2 separate regions of the Homo sapiens genome follow, and region 2 is linked to region 1. The links are contacts of gene promoters, found by promoter capture Hi-C in blood cells and fetal thymus (Javierre and others, 2016). All regions are on one chromosome and are shown on one strand. The core of a region is centred on a gene start or on the middle of the fragment in contact, and the rest is flanking DNA. Distances in the headings are between cores, read along the strand shown.

What was found. Contacts are between HindIII fragments. The CHiCAGO score rates a contact against its expected background, and 5 or more counts as called.
Region 2: a contact is called between a fragment that was not itself captured here and the fragment with the promoter of ZNF559 in region 1, in 5 of 17 cell types (fetal thymus, naive B cells, total CD8 T cells and 2 more). The highest score is 6.4, in fetal thymus.

The regions. Positions count from the first base shown.
Region 1 is chr19:9,322,901-9,325,600 of GRCh38, forward strand. It overlaps ZNF559 (zinc finger protein 559), which reads left to right and starts at 1,279. Exons shown (of 7, transcript NM_032497.3): 1 at 1,279-1,328; 2 at 1,795-1,880. ZNF559-ZNF177 (ZNF559-ZNF177 readthrough) reads left to right here and starts at 1,279. Exons shown (of 13, transcript NM_001384659.1): 1 at 1,279-1,328; 2 at 1,795-1,880. RefSeq lists an enhancer at 1,123-1,372 and a silencer at 1,543-1,682. The HindIII fragment of the contact is 3,488 bases long and covers 1-2,700 here.
Region 2 is chr19:9,410,925-9,413,624 of GRCh38, forward strand. It overlaps ZNF266 (zinc finger protein 266), which reads right to left. Exons shown (of 11, transcript NM_001370374.1): 11 at 1,505-2,700. The coding sequence ends at 2,351. Among named protein-coding and RNA genes, the nearest start is that of ZNF266, 23 kb to the right of the region's middle. The HindIII fragment of the contact is 390 bases long and covers 1,148-1,537 here.

The DNA.
Region 1 (2,700 bases), core at 29-2,528:
TTAGATGGGCAGGAAAGTCTTTGAAGAGGAACCTCTACTTTACTTTTTACTGTAGAGAGAGTAGTCTTTGATCTTGGGGAGATGGGGTTTTTCCTTTTGGTTTAGCTTCAGGAAGTTTGTGTTAATTGGCCTTAGGTGCCCTGCCCCCAGCCCCAGGTGTTTTTCCTTTGATTTAACTTTAGGAAATTATCACGAATTGGCCTTAGATTCCCCGACCCCAGATCTTGGTGTTTTCACTTTTAGGAAGTCCGCATGAATCTTATCTATGCTCTTAACTACGTCCTAATTTTTGTGTTTTTTGTCTTTTTTATAGGAATAGGGTTTTGCCATATTGCCCAGGCTGGTCTCGAACTCCTGAGCTCAAGTGGTCTGCCTGCCTCAGCCTCCCAAAGTGCTGGGATCACTGGCGTGAGCCATCAGGCCCAGCCTCTATGTGCTAATTTTTGAACAAATTCCAATAGGAGCATTCTAGTCTCTGAGTGTGAGATGACCAAAAATCAAGCCCTTGTGAGGCTGAATAGAGTCGGGAGGCAGGGAACTTAAGGCTGTTTCAGGCCGACTTCCTAGAACTAAATTGAAAGGAAAACCCTCACTTTCCTCGCCTAAATAACAAAAGGACCAGAGGCTACTCCCTTTGACCTTTTCTGCTGGCAGATAGGAAATTGGCTGTCTGCAACAAATCAGACTGATGGCCGGTTGAGTCTTCATTTGCATAGAAGTGTAACTTTGTAACGTCGTAACTTCACCCTAGCCTTTGATTGGTTGCTTTTTGCAACCAATCAGATGTTTGCACAGGAGTGTGACCTTTGTAACTTCAGACTCTGGTTGGCTGCTTTCTGCAACCAATCAGACTGAACGCGGGCTACCGCTTCATTTACAGGAGGTGAGCATGAAGTGGCCAATGGGAAAATTCTAGGAGGTATTGGGACTCATGAAGGTTCTGTTTCGGAGCCCTTGAGCTGCCGCTTGGCCAGTTCCCACACTGTGGAGTATGCTTTCGTTTTCAACAAATCCCAGCTCTTGTTCTTTTGTTGCTTCATTCTTTCTTTGCTTTGCTGGGCGTTTTGTCTAATTCTTTGTTCAAAACGCCAGTAACCTGGACAGCTTGCAGTCAAGACCCCCTACCGGTGACACTTGCGCTCTTCGGGGAGGTAAACAGCATTTCCTCTCAGCTCTGGGTTGGAAAAAGCCGCAGCAGCTGATGGGCCCGGGAACCCGAGGCCCCGCCCCCTAGGTGGTCCTAGCCTTTGCGCGTGCGCGGCGTGTCTGCGTGGGCGCATGCGCATAACGGCCGCCATCTTAACAGCGCGTTCCCGTTGGCGTCTGAGGTAAGTTTTTGTTTCTGGGCGGCGTTCGGTGGTGTCCCGGTGCAGCCACGCGAGAGTAGAAGGGTGGAAAGGGGAGGTGCCCAGTGAAATGGAGCCTGTCCCGTGCACTTTCGGGCATTTCGAGCATCTTGTGGGCTCTCCCAAGTCGCGGCCCCTCCTCTGAGAGCCACAGTCAGGTCTGTCCTCAGGGGTCGAGGCGGCTGCGCTGGGGCCTCGGCCCGGGAGGAGGCGGGGGGCACGGCCTTTCCATTTTCCCTGCTCCCCTCTGCAGAAGCCTCATAGGGCCCGGCGCGGCGGCTCACGCCTGTCATTCCCAGCGCTTTGGGCGGATTGGGTAGGAGGATTACTTGAGGCCAGGAGTTCAAGACCAGGCAGGGCAACATAGGGAGACCCCCCCCCCCAACCATCTCTAATGGAAAAAAAAAAAAAAGTCTCCACATCCAGCGTTGTGCCTTTTCTCTATAAGGAACAGCATCTCTGCCTTCCTGTTCACGGTGACCTTCGCTTGGTGTCCTCCTGGCCTCAGCAACCTGACAATTCTGTCGTGTCCCGGTGAGCACTTCATGCACTTGTTCTGGCTGTGGGTGTCGGGTCTTGAAGTTTAAGTTGTGTCGAGGTGGAAAGAAACCTTTTCAGGTGGTTGTTCGAGAGCACATGGATCTGATACCATCGAATGCATGAGTGGATGAATGCACATAACTGTAAAATTTACCACCAAGGAAAAACACAGGACTACTCAACTGTGGTTCCAGGCCATCACCTAGATCTCACTCTAGCGCCCTGTAGATTCCCCCAGAGGTTCAAAACGAGGGCATCCCCAGGAACACGGTGCGGGCTGATTTACTAGCAGGAGGGATTGAATTGATAATGAATGCGAAGATAACTTTTGACAGGTGGGTTTTCTACCAGTTACTCATTTGAAAGTCTTACTGAGGGCGGGGCAAGGTGGCTCACACCTGTAATCCCAGCGTTTTGGGAGGCTGAGGCTGGAGGATCGCTTGAGCCCAGGAATTTGATGCCAACCTGGAAAAAATAGGGCAAGCCTCTGTCTCTACTAAAAATAAAAAATTAGCTGGGCATGGTGGTGTCTGTGGTCCCATCCACTTTGGAGGCCGAGATGCGAGGATCACTTGAGCATGGGAGGTCGAGGCTGCTGTGAGCCATTATTGTGTCACTGCATTCCAGCTTAGGCAACAGAGTGAGACCCTGTTTCAAAAAGAAGAAAAAAAAACAAATACTGATCTAGAGAACATCTGTAGCTCGAGTAAAACAAATGTCTTTAGTCCAGGTGTGGTGGCTCACGCCTGTAATCCCAGCATGTTGGGAGGCTGAGGCTGGCGGATCACGAGGTCAGGAGTTTGAGACCAGCCTG
Region 2 (2,700 bases), core at 93-2,592, 88 kb after region 1:
GAGGAATAGTGGGAGGACCGATGATCTGTGGACTTTGGGTGATAATGAAGTGGCAATGCAGGTTCATGAATTCTAACAAATGTATTACTCTGGTGGAGTATGTTGATGATGGTGGAAGCTATGCATATGTAGTGGCCGCAGGAATATAGGATGTCTTTGAACCTTCCACACTATTTTGCTGTGAACCTAAAACTGCTCTGAAACATGGATTTTTTGTTTTGAGACAGCGTCTGACTCTGTCACCCAGGCTAGAGTGCAGTGGCACAATCTCAGCTCACTGCAACCTCCTTCTGGGCTAAAATGATTCTCCTGCCTCAGCCTCCTGGGTAGCAGGGACTATAGGCATAAGCCACCATGCCCAGCTAAGTTTTGTCTTTTTTGTAGAGGCGGGGTTTCACCAGGTTACCCAGGCTGGTCTTGAACTCCTGAGCTCAAGCAATCCACTCACCTCAGCCTCTCAAAGTGCTGAGATTACAGCTCTGAGCCACTGCACCAGGTGAACACGGATATTTTAAAAGAGTAATAAAACATTTTCAATTGGTCAGAGTTTTCCAATCTGAGAAGTCAACATTATTTAGCTGAACTACCACTCTCCAAAACCTCTTACACTAATAGGATTTCTCTCTACTGCAAAACCTTACTTAAGCAATCCCTGAGATAACAGCAAAGGGCTTTCCATGTTTCACAGACTGTGTGGTCTCATTGCAAGTTACTTCCTGCTGGGTTGTGAAGAGATTCTGACAGCTTTCCCATATTTCTTACATTCACATGGCTATGAACTGTGATACAGTAAGATATGAGAAGCAAATGAAGTACTTCCTGCATCCTTTTTATAATCACAGGGTTTTACCCCAGTGTGAATTCTCACAAAGATATTAAGGCTTGAGCAATGAAATAAGGTGACACCATATCCCTGGGATACACAGGTTCTTCCTCCAATGTGAGATTTCATGTTAACATTATGGCATGTGAGATATTTAAAGGTTGCCATACATTCCCCTACATTCCCAGGACATTTGCAGTCTAATTTTATTTTATTTTTTTTGAGACAGAGTCTTGCTTTGTCACCCAGGATGGAGTGTAGGGGTCTTGGCTCACTTGCAGTCTAATTTTAGATATGTAAAATGAGCCTCGTGGAATTAGTAAAAGCTTTCCCACGTGCCTTACAGCAGAAGTGTTCTCTACACTGTGAATTTTTATTTCTCATGTAAGGTATAAACATTTAATGAAATCTCTCCACATTACTAATAATGGAGCCTCAGTCCACTCTAAGTCACTAAATGTTGGGTGAAGTCACATTTATGACTTTCATAGTAAAAGAAACTTTCTCTTCTTGATGGTCTTTGATTTTCACAGGGCCTATCACCACAAGAGTTGGAAGTGAGTATTAAGATCTGATGAGCACTTACAGACTTCTTCACATGTCCTACATTCATAGAACGTCTCTCCTGTGATTGCTTTTGTGTTTACACTAACACTAATGATAGCTAATGAACGGAAAAAATAATCACAAAAAAATTTTATTATGTTTGAAGAAAGCTTAAAAATTTGTGTTGGTCTGCATTCAAAGCCATCCTGGCCTGCGGGTTGGACAAGCTTGATCTAAAGCTTTTCCCAAGTTCCTCACAGTATTAGTTTCCTAGGGTTGCTGTACAAAATAACAGACTGAATGATTTAACCAAGAGAAATTTATTGCCTCACAGTTCTGGAGCCTGGAAGTGCAATATCAAGGTGGAGACAGGGTTGGTTTCCTCTGGAGGCCATAATGAAAGCATCTGTTCCAGGTCTCTGTCCTTGGCTTGTAGATGGCCATCTTCTGGTGGATCCACACAGTCTTCTCCATGTGTATCCTTCCTTCAGTTTCCCTTATAGGGACACCAGTGATGTCAGATTAGGGATCGAACCCAACAACCTCATTTGAAGTTACTCACCTGTTTGAAAACCCTATGTCCAAATACAGTTATAGTGTAAGGAACTAGGACTTAGGGCTTACAAATATGGAGTGGGGCATCATCCAGACCATACCATTTAAATTGCAGGGTTTCTCTCCAATGTGAGTTCACATACACACATTAAGGTTTGTGGGATTCAGAAAGGTATTCCCAGATTCTCTACATTCATACAGTTTCTCTCCAGTGAGATTTCTGATGTGTTTGGTAAGGCTTGAGAATTCAGCAAAGTCATTTCCACATTCCCTGATGCAGGGTCTTCTCCACTGTGAATTCATATGTGTTCATTAAGACCTGAGATACAAAGTTGCTTCCACATTTTTACATTCATAGGGTTTCTCCCCAGTGAGTTTTCATGTCTTCAGAGAGAACAGGGACACCTTTAGGTTTTCCCACATTCCTTATGCTGACAGTCTCTCATCCGCATGCCTTCTTTCATGATTTCGAAAGGAACTGGAAGAACTGAAGGCTTTCCCGCACTCCTTACATTCATAGGGTTTCTCTCCAGTGTGAGTTCGTTCATGTAACTGAAACGAATTGGAGTAACTGAAGGATTTCCCACACTGTTTACATTTGTAGGGTTTTTCTCCAGTGTGGATCCGCATGTGAAGGTTAACACACGTGGGAAACTTAAAAGCTTTGCCACATTCCATACACGTGAATGGTTTTTTGGCGCTGTGGGTCCGCATGTGATTATTAAGACTGGAGGAATGCGTAAATGCTTTACCACATTCCAGGCACTCAAAGGGCT